4 separate regions of the Homo sapiens genome follow, and regions 2, 3 and 4 are each linked to region 1. The links are contacts of gene promoters, found by promoter capture Hi-C in blood cells and fetal thymus (Javierre and others, 2016). All regions are on one chromosome and are shown on one strand. The core of a region is centred on a gene start or on the middle of the fragment in contact, and the rest is flanking DNA. Distances in the headings are between cores, read along the strand shown. Region 1 holds the start of NALCN-AS1 (NALCN antisense RNA 1). Region 2 overlaps NALCN (sodium leak channel, non-selective). Region 3 overlaps NALCN (sodium leak channel, non-selective). Region 4 overlaps NALCN-AS1 (NALCN antisense RNA 1).

Region 1 (3,466 bases), core at 381-2,880:
ACTTATGATGGTTTGACTTAGGATTTTTTGACTTTACAATGGTGCAAAAGTGAAATGCGTTCAGTAGAAACTGTAGTTTGAGTACTCATACAACCATTCTGTTTTTCAATAAATTACATGAGATAGTAAGTACTTTATTATAAAATAGGCTTTGTGTTACATGATTTTTGCCCACCTATAGGCTAACGTAAGTGTTGAGCACATTTAAGGTAGGCTAGGCTAAGCTATAATGTTTGGTAGTTTAGGTGTATTAAATGCATTTTCGACTTACAATATCTTCAAATTATGGTGGTTTATTGGGATGCAACCCCACCAAAGTTGAGGAACATCTCTCTATATACAATCTTACTGGTTTTAGAAAGAATGTCTGAGGCACTTTTGCTCTTTGATTTTCCTCTGGAGAATTGCATGATGCATAGAATGCTCATGTTCAACACACACTCGTGGGATTCCCTGCATTTAGGTGACAATAATTTATAATCACCGCAGCTATTTGTTAATGCTTCAGTAATAGTCTGTCCTTACTGGTTGAAACATCAATAAAATAGAGTTATGCACAGTTCACCCACAGCAGCCTGCTCTTTCTCTGCAACTTTTATTCAAAAAGCATGTCAGCATATTTAAAAAGTAGTGACCAATCATTAGTTTTGTCAAGTCAATCATCTCCAACTGATAGTGACGCAACTCCAGTTTAGTGTTCTTTAGAATTACCTGGAGAAGTAATTATTGGGAACATACAGGCTCCTAGGCTACAACCCTAAGAGCTTCCCATTTATAGCATTTCAGGTAGCCCAAGAATCTGCATTTTAGCAAGTACTCTAGGAAATATGAAGCTATTTGGAAAACCTTATCTTAGAGATACTTTATTGTTAATACAACTTCCAGAGGTATTAGCTAGAAGTGCCCAATCAAGGCTCTGGATGGTGGGGGTGAAGAAAAGGAAGAAAAGAAAGTCATATGCTCCTTCCAAAACTAGTTCCTCTTGGCTAACCAGTTGTTATGGGCTGAATTGTGTCTTCCCCAACCCCCAAATTCCTATATTGAAGCCCTAACGCCCAGTACCTCAGAATGCGACTGTATTTGGAGACAGGGCCTTTAAAGAGGTAATTAATTTAAAATGAAACCATGAGGGTTAGCCCTAACACAATCTGACTGGTGTCCTTATAAGAAAAGGAAATTTGGACACAAAGAGAGATACCAGGGATGTGTGCACACAGAGGAAAGACCACGTGAGGACACATTGAGAAGGCAGCCATCTGCAAGCCAAGCAGAGAAGCCTCAGAAGAAACCAGGCCTGCTGACACCTTGAAAGAATACGTTTCTGTTGTTTACGCTCCCCTGTCTGTGGTATTTTGCTACAGCAGCCATAGAAAACTAATACACCAGCTGAAATGAGTCAGTTCTCACACTGCTATAAAGAACTACCTGAGACTGGGTAATTTATAATGAAAAGAGGTTTAATTGACTCACCGTTCCACAGGCCACACAGGAAGCATGGCTGGGAAGGCCTCAGGAAACGTACAATCATGGCAGAAAGCAAAGGGGAAGCAGCACTTCTTACCAGGGCAGGAGCAGGAGGAAGAGCGAAGGGGAAGGTGCCGCCCACTTTTAAACAACCAGGTCTTGCGAGAACTCACTCCCTATCACAGGAACAGCCAGGAGGAAGTCCGCCCCCATGATTCCATCCCCTCCCACCAGGCCACTCCTCCAACACTGGGGATTACAATCTGACAGAGATTTGGGTGGGGACACAGAACCAAACCATATCACCAGCTCTCTGTGCCTGCCTCTCACAGTTGGCTCACAGCCTGCAGAGCTGGTGTGCAATGTGTCATCATGATTTAACTCTCTTCATTTTCCCACCTAGGATGCCAGAAATCAGGGCCGCAAAGCCCACTAATGTTCCTTTGTGGGTGAGTCACAGGTTTGTGGGAGAGAGAAACTGGAAATCAGCTCATCAACCACTGAGCTAAAACAATTGTGCCAATGAGGGTCTGACCTAACCTCTCACTCTTGCGTAAATGATGGAAGAGAGAGACACCTGAGGTTTTGAGGCTCAGCTATCAGAAGCTGACTCAGCTCGATAAAGCCTCTTCATCAGCAGTTACATGCAGCAGGTCATACAACTGATTGATCTAACTGGAATCCCTCAAGTATTCCACAGGCACCAATGATATACTAGCCAATAACCCCACTGCGAGACAGAGTCCATGGATTCAAAGTCTTATTGCCAAAGTTAGGATCTGTAATCCCTTTCTACTTATTTTGAAATATGCTGCTGCACTTCAGCGAAATCTGATAACATTCTGGCAGGTATTATAAAATTAGTTGAATAATATTAGCTTAATTAGATTAATTGCTTGCTGTGATTATCTAGGGAATTTCATCCTTATCTTCATTCTCCTTTCTCAGCTCTTTCCTTCCCTCATGCTTCCCTATGGGTGGTATATTCAAGATTGCAGGACACTGAGTGAATGGGAGAGGGAACAATTGCTGAGATGAGTGTCACTAAAGACATTCACCTGCGCTCTCGCTCTCCTTCATACCCCTCTGGGCTACTGTGCCCCACCTCCAAGGGAGCCAGCATCACCACTGGGAGAGACATGGGGACTCATATGAAGCTGGAAATGAAGGAGAGGCTCGTCTGGGATGAAGGTGAATGAGACAGTAAGATACAGCTGTGTAAAAAGAAAAGGGAATGGTAAAGAATGGAGTAGAAGAGAAGAAAGTTTCATCAGAGGGTAAGAGAAGGAGGAAAGAAGAGTTTTGTGGACGGATTGAAGACATGTTGAAGTCTTAACCCCCAGAACCTGCGAATGCGCCCTCATTTGGAGATAGGGTCTTTGCAGATGGAATCAAGTTAAAATGAGGCTATACTGGATGAGGGCGGGCCCTTATCCAACACGACTGCTGTCCTTCTAAGAAGAGAAAAATTTGAACACAGACACACACAGAGGGAAGGTCACGTAAAGATAGAGGCAGAGGTTGGAGTGATGCTGCTACAAGCCGGGGAGTGCTGTGGGCCACCACAAGCTGGAAGAGGCAAAGAAGGACCCTTCCCTAGAGCTCGAAAGGACAACAGCCCTGCCAACACCTTGATTTCAAACTCTAGCCTCCAGGACTAGAGACAGTAAGTTTCTGTGGTTTTACGACTCCCAGCCTGTGGTACTTGGTTATGGAGTCTGAGCAAACTAACAAGGAGAAAGTGTGTGGAGAAGAGGGAAGCTTCCTGAAGGCTGTTTGCTTCTCATGCTGCCTGGAACATGGTGGCACTCAGTAAGGAAGTGTGGATTAATAGACTAGGTGACACGTACATAAGGCACTGACGACAGACGTGTGAGAGGAAATAAAGTGCAAACCGATGTCTATCACATGTCTTTTTCCCTCATTGGCTAGCTCAGTGCCTTACAGAAAACAGGTGCTTAACAAATGTGTTGATGAACTGATTAAATCATTTCCATAGTTA
Region 2 (3,466 bases), core at 967-3,466, 420 kb before region 1:
TACTCATCATGAAATGGATCTCTGTATTCTTTGTTTTGCTAATTATTTCAGGTGATTGTCAGTATCTTCTAGAGCCAGAAGAGGGCACTGCAGAGCAGTGTAGCTCTGAGCTCTTTATGTTTAGCACAGTCTAGGAATGCCCTTTGCCAAAAAAAATTCGCAAAGCTTTACTATAGAAGTAAGAAAAAAGAAGGGAATAACTAGATAATCACTATAGGCCTTCTTTATTTAGTAGAAAAAAGAAAGTATATAACGATCTAAATACATATCTAGGACATCAAATGTAATATCATATATATATGTATAAGTAGATGAAAGAAGACATATATATGTGTGTGTGAGTCCTTTCCTTCTTTTAAGAACATCCCAAAGGCCAGGTGTGGAGGCTCACACCTGTAATCCCAGCACTTTGGGAGGCCAAGGTCGGTGGATCACTTGAGGTCAGGAGTTTGAGGCCAGCCTGGCCAACATGGTGAAACCTCGTCTCTACTAAAAATACAAAAATTAGCCGGTGTGGTAGTGCATGCCTGTAATCCCAGCTACTAGGGAGGCTGAGGCAGGAGTATTGCTTGAACCCAGGGGGCGGAGGTTGCAGTGAGCCGGGATCACACCACTGCCCTCCAACCTGGGCAACAGAGTGAGACTCTTTCTCAAAAAACAAAACAAAACAAAAGAACATCCCAAAGCTAAATCTGATGTTTTTCTATTATAATATTGATTCTCCTGCTACCTCTGGCATTAGTTATAAAAACAGTTCTCAAGTACTCTCCTGTATGAATTAATACTGTATTTTGTCTTAGTTCAAATTCAGGACAAAGGCCATTCAGTAGCCTTTTAGCAATCTTGTGCAGGGCAGAAATCATTTAGGCAATAGTGTACCAGATATTATCCCAAAAGTTTTTCCTAACGTGAAATTGCAGGGGCAGTAGATAAGTGATTGGATTCAGACTCTCATCTTCCACTGAAGGAAAGACAACTAACACATGTCATTGTCCTTTCAAGATGAAATAAGAGTTGTGGAATCTGGAGTCCTCTCTTAAAACTCACTGTCACAGGACCTCTGTGCCTGGGTCTGTCTCAGGACTATGTGTGTTCTTAGGTGTCTAAAGAGCAGATGCTCCACGATGATGGGGCCACCAGCTGAGTCTTCCATCTCCAAAAGCGGCTCCAAGCAGCTTTCCTTAGGAGCTGAGCTGTCAACTCAAGAGAGGTTAAATCCATGTCAAAAGTCAACTTTTGGCCGGGTGTGGTGGCTCATGCCTGTAATCTCAGCACTTTGGGAGGCTGAGGCAGGTGGATCACAAGGTCAGGAGTTCAAGACCAGCCTGGCCAATATGGTGAAACCCCATCTCTACTAAAAATACAAAAATCAGTCGGGCATGGTGGCGGGCACCTGTAGTCCCAGCTACTCGGGTGGCTGAGGCAGGAGAATCGCTTGAACCCAGGAGGTGGAAGTTGCGGTGAGCTGAGATTACGCCACTGCACTCCAGCCTGGATGGCAGAGCAAGACTATCTTAAAAAAAAAAAAAAAATTATGCCAAAAGTCAACTCTTTCAGGAGGGGAGAAGTAGGAAAGTTTCAAGATTTATCATTGGAAATAGCATGTATGTGCTACCAAGAAAATGGAAGTTCCAAATAGTTGGTATCCACTCTTGTCTCCTTGTCCATACATTAATTTTTCTCCTAAGAGTTCTAGTGAATAATGAAACCAATTCCGGTTTTTCATTTTTGAGCAGAAAAATGAACAAACCACCTTTCCTCATGAGGGGGAAATCACCAGTATGTTCAGTGATGCTGATCTTTACTACATATCTGCTGTAAAATATGAAAAGTGGATTGCTAGTTTTGATGTTATCTAGGTTATCATTTGTGACTAAAAAGACCTGTTTGTTACTCTGGTTCTTCTCCACTATGGCTTTATGGACACACTGACTGACATTATAGCATTTGTTCATAGCTTTGTTTGTAGAATGGGGTGCTGTGAGTTTGTACCTCAACATACCTAACCCTTGTTGAAAAGAAACTAACTAGGTGATCTATTTTTACTGAATACAGAGTTTTCTGTCTTCTGAGGGTTTTCTTTCCCCCCTCAACTTTGTTTGACACACAGTATGCCCTGTAGGGCTTCTTGCCTGGTTTCAAGATCTGGCTAGCACAGCACTTATACAGGTAGTTTGTACCAAATTAACTTGCCCTGTGCACACATGTCCACTTCAGTCCTTCACCCAGTACCGCCTTTGCCTCTAGGAATCTTAGCCTTCCTTCAAGGCCCAGTATAACCTCCACTTTTTCATTGAAGCCTTTGCCGACTAGTCCAGACTTGCTGTTCCACCGCAGAGAGCTCCAGCCCCTCTGATCTTGTGTTTTCTCCTTTACGTATCATCTAGCACTGTGCCATCTACTGCACTGTACTTGTCACTGATGATCTCATGTGTCCTACCCTTGTCTTCCTATCTAGGCTATTCACTTCTAGAAACCAAGAACTCCAAATTCTATTTACCCTAAATCTCCTATGGTCACTAATATCATGCTAAGTGCTCAGTAAATCTAATCTATTGATCAAAATGAACAGGTCTCAATTACTATCTTCAGTCTGACTACTGGAGTTACACTTTCCTGTTATTTATTATTTATTCTAGTTATTTATTATTGTGAATCTAGTTATTTATTTATTATTATGAGAACATAGTGGCCCATTTGCCTGTTTTCTCTTTGCCCTTCTTCTGCCTGCTTTAACTCCTTGTACACCTTCCACCAATCTAAAATCTGCAACTAGCAAGCCACACAGAACTGAGCTTGGGGAGTATATCTTTGAATTTACAGTCAGCATCCAGGATGGTTTTCTCCTTAGTTCTCTTCTCTGGAGTAATTTTATCATCGCCAACTAGGAAGAGATCTTGAATGCCCATTTCATTCATTCCCCACACCTGCAAGCAAAACAACTCCTAAACTCATTGTTCAGATTAGTGTTAGGTTACAGGCCAAGAACCTGCAGCAGACATAATGTGGATTAGAGAACATTGCGCTAATCAAAGACAAATAAGGAGTCCAGTATGAGGGTCAACGTTAAAGTCTTTGGAAACTGAAAATTTTATTCAGACGAAGGCCATTATCAGAGTGAGGCACAGCCAATGCACCATCCGTGGCTGGGACGTGGGGCCCCACAAGTTTGTTCATGGTGCTGCCCAAATAAAAGTAAAAATAGACAAGAATTGTCAATTGTACGATGATGCTTTAGCGAAACATATTCATGTTTCATGTTTTAACAATGTCATCTATTGAATGATTTGACAGTATATTATTTCTTAACATTCCAAAACTAAAAGTCATACTCTTATCATTTTCAGCTTCGCAAGTCTGTTTTCAGCATCAGGGCAAGGAACCTTCTGGAAAAGGAGACCGCAGTCACTAAAATCTTAAGGTAACACCAATTAATGTTGACACATATTTAAACACAAGTGGGATT
Region 3 (3,466 bases), core at 663-3,162, 390 kb before region 1:
CAAGTGCAATGATCCCAACATTATTAGAAGGGTAAGATGTATCTTTCTGTCTTTTGAAATAAAAATTAAGGGCCAAGTGTGGTGGCATGTGCCTACAATCCTAGCACTTTGGAATGCCAAGGAGGGAAGATTACTTGAAACTGGAGGTCAAGGTTGCAGTGAGCTATGATCTCACCACTGTACTCCAACCTGGGCAACAGAGCGAGAGCCCTGTCCCTAAAAAGAAAACAAAATAATAATAAGGTGTTTACACTCCCTTGGCAAGCATGTGGTACCAGTGGCTGACAAGCCTAGTTTAAGAACTCCCTATAAAACCCTAAGAATTCTCTTCCCACAAACCCCTTTTTGCTTAAGCATGTGATATGTCTCTTCTGGCTAGAAAGGTTAATAAGATGAAAAGCACACCTCAGAGAATGTCACTCTTCCCTCCTATTCCAGTGTCAACCCACTGTTGACAACTTGAGTGTGGTCACCCAAGATTCCAGCTGTTTACAGCTGTAAGCTTTGGATACTTTCCCTTGAGGTCTTAGCTAACTTGATCCTTCCTTTGTTGTCACATAAGACTCATATCAGCAAACAGCCCCATGCAAAAATGTCCAAGAAGCAGCGTTTGGTTCTCACCACTTTTTATTGCTTCCCCACTCTCAGCTTTCTCCCCATTAGAAAGCCAGTGCCTTTACATTAGCTCTAGCTGCCCAGAATCTCCCTCTTTATGACAACCAACAAGGACCTCCACAAAGACCCAAACTTGAATACTTGCACTACGGCGTTTCTTTCTCTTTCTTCAGTCATTGGTTATAAGGGAAGGCTAGCTGCTGTAACAAGCCCAATATTTCGGTAGCTTCACATAATGAAATGTATATATTGCATCTTGGATCAGTTGCAATATATACATTTGCAATATATACACTATATACAGCTCTCCTCCAAATGACCACTCAGGGACTCACATGCCTTCTATCCTATGCCGCCACCCTTTGCCATGTCTTCAGAGCCTTCTTCAATGAGCTGGAGATAACAGTGGAGAGCCATCTCCAACTGAGTGGGCTGTGGGAGAATCTGCTCCACCCACATTCCTCTGTAAAGAGCAGAGATACTGCAAGGGGGGCTGGAATTTAGTTGTGTGCTCCAGAAAAATAAAAGGGGGACACAGTTTGGTTAATAATTAGACAATTTTTGTAATATCATAAAGTGTCCCATTCTCTTAGGATTCTTATGTTACAAGTAAATTCATAAAGTAAACCAACCACTGCTGATGTATAAACTAGAAAAGCATTTTCTCTTTGATCCCAATAAAATGATGCCTCAGTTCCTAAATGTATATCTTCAAAAGGCCTACTAGACCTGAACTACATTATTTATTTCTAGCAAATATGGCTATCTAGTATAGATTTTAAATGATACAAATTGTTCTCTAATTGTGACAAAATACAGGTAACATCTTTGTTCAGCCAAAATACATTATAAATTATATTAATAATGAGAATTTGAAACAAAGGCCAGACTGGGAGAGACATTCCAAGAGCTTTGATACACCTGAGAAGACAGAACAAGGAATGTGGCCTGACGGTCATGCCGTATCAAATTAGCTGATAAAGAAAGTGACAGAGACCTGACGCATTCATCCACAAGCTTGTGTGTGGAAAGAAGAGTGATTTTTGATCCACACTGAACAGAGGCCAGAAAGATAATAACACTTCAGGATGAAGCCTGCTAGGAATCTTGGATGACTCAGTATATTAACAGTGGCCTAAGAGCATGGTGATTTTACATTATCCACTCATACCCAGCCAAAGCTGAAGATTGATGGTGACAGCAGCCAGCAGATGAGCATAGACACAGATTTCATGATGCATTTATCCTGTTTCCTAGAGCAGTGAGGTCTGTGCGAGGCTCAGATGGAAAGCCTAAGGAGACTCAGCCATCATAGAGAGCACCAGCACCAAGCAGAACGATTGAAAAGAAATTGGCACGGTGAGACGGGGCTTGAGTCTTTTTGTCTTCTCAAATCCAAACATAAGAGGCCGAGGCCGAGGCCAAAAACGCCATGAGTGAAGGTGACGTCGGCTGAAGTTCTGTTGGAGAACTTCAGCCCATCTTACTAAAAGAAGAGATAAATCCAAAGAAAGGGGGAAAGTAGATACACCAACATTTAGATCACACACAGTTCCTGTTAAAGACAACGAAGCTTCAGTTGCTGCGCCCATAGTTTCCAGTTGGGAAGATGTGTTTTCTTGTATGAGGCTGAGCACTTCCTCCCTCTGCTCCTTTGTTTGTTGTCTTAAAACTCAACAGATGTCATGAGATCAATATAGATATAGATATGGAGCCTAGGACTTTGTCACCAAAACCCTGTAAACAAACGCTGAGGATACCTTTTGACAAATAGTCATTAAATGTCAGTTGTGTCCAAGGCACTGTGATAGGTGAAATGAAATGTGGAAGGGAAACATTAGGAGGTCCTTGCTTCTGTTTTGTGGCATTTTCTGTCCAATCAGAACGTGTTTCATGTTCAAGCAACAGTAATATAAAGTCAGCAGTTTTCAAAAGCCTATGAGAAGCAGAAATAACATGTAATCTATGATGTCAGCATGGGAAATTGTGCTTCCAACTGGGAGTACTGTACTGGGAGGGCTTCAGGGAGGAGGTGGGATTTGAGATGAGCAGGAAAGGACCTTCCAAGGAGAGCAAGCAGTGAAGAAGGACACGGAGCATACAAAGAAGGGTCACAGTGTAGAGGCAGGGACCGAACAAGGAGGAAGGAGCATGGGCTTCGAAATCACAGCTTCTGAGATTGGAATCCTACTTCAGGAGAGGTGATGGCCTGGTCTGGTCACTTAATCCTTCTGGAACCTATTTCTGCCTTGAATGCTTCTCACACAATGATATTATGAAGATTAGATTACCTTGTTTATGCGAAGTACCTAACCTGATCTCAACAGTGAGTGTTAATTTCATTCCCGCCCATGTAGGAAAAAACTGAAGAACAAGGCCAGAAATGTAAGTTAGGGAGAGATCCTCAAGTGCCTGAAATGCCTGGCTAAGGGGTTTGGAATTTCGTTGATGAGAAGTGAGAAACCACAAAAGGTTGGTAAGAAGAGGAATCAGACACATCCTAGTGCCCACAAAGTACAAAGCACCATTCCTAGTGCTGTTTTTGTTACCCATATCCTAATGAGGATATCCATTCCTAATGAGGAAAACAGGTGTAGAAAGATTAAATAATTTGTCCAAGGTCACCCACCTAATAAGTGGAGAAGCAGGGAACTAGTGTCCAGGCACCCTGGCTTTTCACCAAGATACCAGACTGCTTCATGCAATCAAAGGTGGGCTCAGGTGGGTTCAGGAAGACAAATTGGAAAAGGCAGTGAGGCCAAATATGTCAAGGGACCTTTATACAATACACTACAACACAGCCTTTCCAAATAATGTTCTACATAAAAAGGTATGGTTATGGAAAGATAAT
Region 4 (3,466 bases), core at 399-2,898, 290 kb before region 1:
ACTGGTCTTATGAAAATGACTTTACTTTGATCATATAACTTGCATGCTGGATTTTATCACATGGTGTTTTGACATCTATTTGAAATTTAAAGGAAATTATTTCACTCACCATGAAGTATCTCTGCATACATCTCATATAAGAGGCTCCCTAGAATTAAAATACATGTGTGAAAAGAATAATTGCTCCTTCCAACACCCTAATTGTTCATAATATCAGGTCACTGAATGTTTAGAAACCAAGTTGTAACTAGCTTGCAATCATATCATCTTTGGCATGGCTGACAACAAGCCTTTTAACTACACGTCCTACAATAAACAAGAAAGCAGGCCTCATATGTTCCCTAAAACTTTATTACGGTGCTAACCTTTCTACAAGAAATGGCATTTTGGAAATGCCACATGCATTTTAACTCTTGTTCCAGTTACTGATGGCAAGAATGACCTATCAACAAAGACAGAGGATAAAGAGTCTCATCATTACCCATATACTAACAACAGTCATTCGGGGTTATTACAACCCCATTTTTCACTCAGGGCAATGCCATTTTATTTGTCAAATTGCTTTAATAAATATTACTTTCTATCACTACCAGAGAACAGAAGTGTCCTGGGATACTTTAAGTTACAAAGTCCTATAGGGACTTTACTTCCAGTATCTTCCTGTATCTCTTTTCTTAAATTTTCTCTTTTCAGGTTGATCAGCAGGAATTGCTCTAAATGTCCAAGTCCAGATTCACATACAAGTAAAGGAAGAATGGAGAATTTTTTTTCTCCTCAAATATCTCTTCAAAACATTTGCAGAGATTCTAAAAAGAGGGGAAATCTTCTTGTCTATTCTAGTCTGAAGAACAATCTACAGGTAAAAAAATCTCCCCTGGACCAGGCAGATTGGGAAGGATGTAATTAGCATAATGAATAGGTTCAAAAGACTCTTGCTGAATCATTCAAATTAGCCAAATCAACTCTGACCACTAAACCAGATGATAGTTGAAGCTTCTAATGTGGTCAGCATTTGGAACTGCCAAGGGTTCAAGTCCAAGAGCCCCATTTTAATAAATACTCTAGCAAATACATTTATGTTTTATTCATCAAACACCAATTGAGATGTAAATATTTATGTCAACCACGACCATAGGTTGTAGGAACAACGATGAACAAGACACCGACACCAAGTAATTGCCAAGTCAGTTCCCATTCCTGATGGGGCACAGAGATCAATAAAGGAGAGCAAGGGGCTTTGGGGTGTTTCATGTTAGGGGATGTTGTCATTTTACACATGGTGGTCAGAGATGTCTTCTGGGATAAAATGACATTTCAGTAAAGACCCAAAGGACGGGAGAAAGTTAGCCATGTGAATGATGAATTCAGAGCAGACATCTACCTTGCCTCCTTACTTGTCTTTAAAAGCAAAGTTTCTGTCACTTATGTTTATCTTATTTTGATATGGAAAATAGAGGATAAGCAAAAATATTATTTTTCTTCTACTGCATCAATTTTTAACTTTCAGAAGCTAATTGCCTATTTGCATCTTCTCACTTCTGCCAAGTCACTTCACGATTCATCACACACAGAAAAAGTCACCAACAATCTTGGTCCTTGAGAGGACATGCCGTCAGGATCAACTCAGCGACTGCGTACTGCACTCCAGCTGGAAGGCTGGATAAGAAATGCATGAGTGGGACATGAGAACTTACTGGATTTTCTTCATGCTTTCCTTGAAGCCTCTTGCCATAGATGCTCCATTTAGCTGAATCTCAGCCTACACATGCATCATAGAACCAGGGATGACAGCCAGCAATACTTTTAGGGGCCAGAACAAGTTTTCATTTCTTTTAAAATGAGAAGAAAAAAATGAAGTTTGAGTTTTTTCAAGAGTCTTCATTTGGACACTTAGTTCTGATTCTGTGGTCCTCTTCCTTTCTAATGGAGGTATTTAGGATACAGCCATCTTTCCAGTTTTAACTGCATCCCATGAGTTGTGTTCCGTAACACTGGTGCTATCATTCACTTCCAGATATTTTTGGATTTTCATAATGGACTCTTCTTTGACCCATGGGATACTTAAAATTGTGTTTTAAAATTTTAAATTATGGATAAGGATTAATATTTTATATGGCTTTCTAATTTGATTGCACTGTGGTATGATTGCACCGAGGGAACATGGCATGTTTGATATCAGTTTTTGGCATTTATTAAAATTTGCTCTAGTGTCACTATTTAGGAAATTGTTTCATGTGTCATGAAAGTTCAAGAATTCTTTACATGTTGGGAGCAAGGATGTGTATCCATTATATTAAGCTTTCAAATTTTAATCTCCCATATCCTGCCTAGTATTTTTGTTTATACTATGAATTACTGAGCACGGCATGCCAAATCCCTCATCATGACTGTAGATCTGTCCACTTCCAAATGTCATTTAAAATGTTTGCATCATACAGAGCCAAGTGGTAACATGGGTGGAAACAGGTTTAGAATTCTAGTATCTTACTAGAGATTTTTCTTTTTTTCTCTTCGTATAGTGATTGTCTCTCTCCTAAATTTTGTTTTCTCATTAAAGTCTGTGTGGCCTGGCATTAACACTGCCAGCCACTCCGGTTAATATTTTCCTGGAATAATGTTTTCAGTTTCAACTCAACCTTTTCCTATTCCATATTTTAGGATTAATTCTCACAAATAGCATTCACAGTTAACTCAAAACAAAACTATTATTCACTGATTATTCTGTGCCAGGTACAGTTCTAGGCAAAGGGAGAACAGAAGTGAACTAAACAAAGTCCCTGCAATCAAGGAGTTTACAGTCTACAAGGGGCAGTCAGAGGGCAGGAGAGGAAGAAAGACAACAACTAACAAGGTAATACAAGAGGTATGAAGAAAAACAAATTAGAGTAAGAGGGTATGGGGGAGTGGGAGGGCGTACTGTTTTGTGGAGGGTAGTCAGTGAAGAACTTGCAGATACAGTGGTATTTGAGAAGCCAGGGAAACCAGGGAGCAAGCCAGGGAAATACCTAGGAAAACAGACCCCAGGCTTAAGGAAGAGCTGGGGAACAAGCCCACAGTCAAAAGTAGGCTTGGGTACACTTGGAGATAGCAGGTGGCCAATCCCACTTCTGTAAGTAGAGTGAAGGGTCACAGGGAGAGCACAGGAGAGGAGGTCTGGGGTGGGCCAGCGAGATGGAGGGACAGCTCCCAAAAGGTCTTGAGGTGACGATAAGGATGCTGGACTTTCCTCTGAGTGAAATGGAGTGGACGAGTGACCAGATCTGATTTGCATTGAAGAACACATTATTACAATATTCCAGGTGAGAAACTTCCATGGATGGCTGAGCGGGGTGGGGGGCAGCACTGAAAGTAGGGAGCCACGGTCAGATTCTAAATGTATCTTGAAGGCAGAACCAAGATGATTTGCTGTTGGGTTGGATGTAAGATGTGATGGAAAGGGCACATCAAGGATGACTCCAGGGTGATT

The links. Contacts are between HindIII fragments. The CHiCAGO score rates a contact against its expected background, and 5 or more counts as called.
Region 2: a fragment that was not itself captured here is called in contact with the fragment with the promoter of NALCN-AS1 in region 1 in 1 of 17 cell types (endothelial precursors); the score reaches 5.8 in endothelial precursors.
Region 3: a contact is called between a fragment that was not itself captured here and the fragment with the promoter of NALCN-AS1 in region 1, in 1 of 17 cell types (endothelial precursors). The highest score is 7.2, in endothelial precursors.
Region 4: a contact is called between a fragment that was not itself captured here and the fragment with the promoter of NALCN-AS1 in region 1, in 1 of 17 cell types (endothelial precursors). The highest score is 6.1, in endothelial precursors.

The regions. Positions count from the first base shown.
Region 1 is chr13:100,706,489-100,709,954 of GRCh38, reverse strand. NALCN-AS1 (NALCN antisense RNA 1) reads right to left here and starts at 1,630. Exons shown (of 8, transcript NR_047687.1): 1 at 1,562-1,630. The HindIII fragment of the contact is 7,868 bases long and covers 1-3,227 here.
Region 2 is chr13:101,124,563-101,128,028 of GRCh38, reverse strand. It overlaps NALCN (sodium leak channel, non-selective), which reads left to right. Exons shown (of 44, transcript NM_052867.4): 18 at 3,348-3,421. Among named protein-coding and RNA genes, the nearest start is that of LINC00411, 180 kb to the right of the region's middle. The HindIII fragment of the contact is 4,097 bases long and covers 168-3,466 here.
Region 3 is chr13:101,097,349-101,100,814 of GRCh38, reverse strand. It overlaps NALCN (sodium leak channel, non-selective), which reads left to right. Exons shown (of 44, transcript NM_052867.4): 27 at 1-31. Among named protein-coding and RNA genes, the nearest start is that of LINC00411, 150 kb to the right of the region's middle. The HindIII fragment of the contact is 556 bases long and covers 1,635-2,190 here.
Region 4 is chr13:100,997,067-101,000,532 of GRCh38, reverse strand. The region is part of intron 2 of NALCN-AS1 (NALCN antisense RNA 1); the gene reads right to left. Among named protein-coding and RNA genes, the nearest start is that of LINC00411, 54 kb to the right of the region's middle. The HindIII fragment of the contact is 1,305 bases long and covers 996-2,300 here.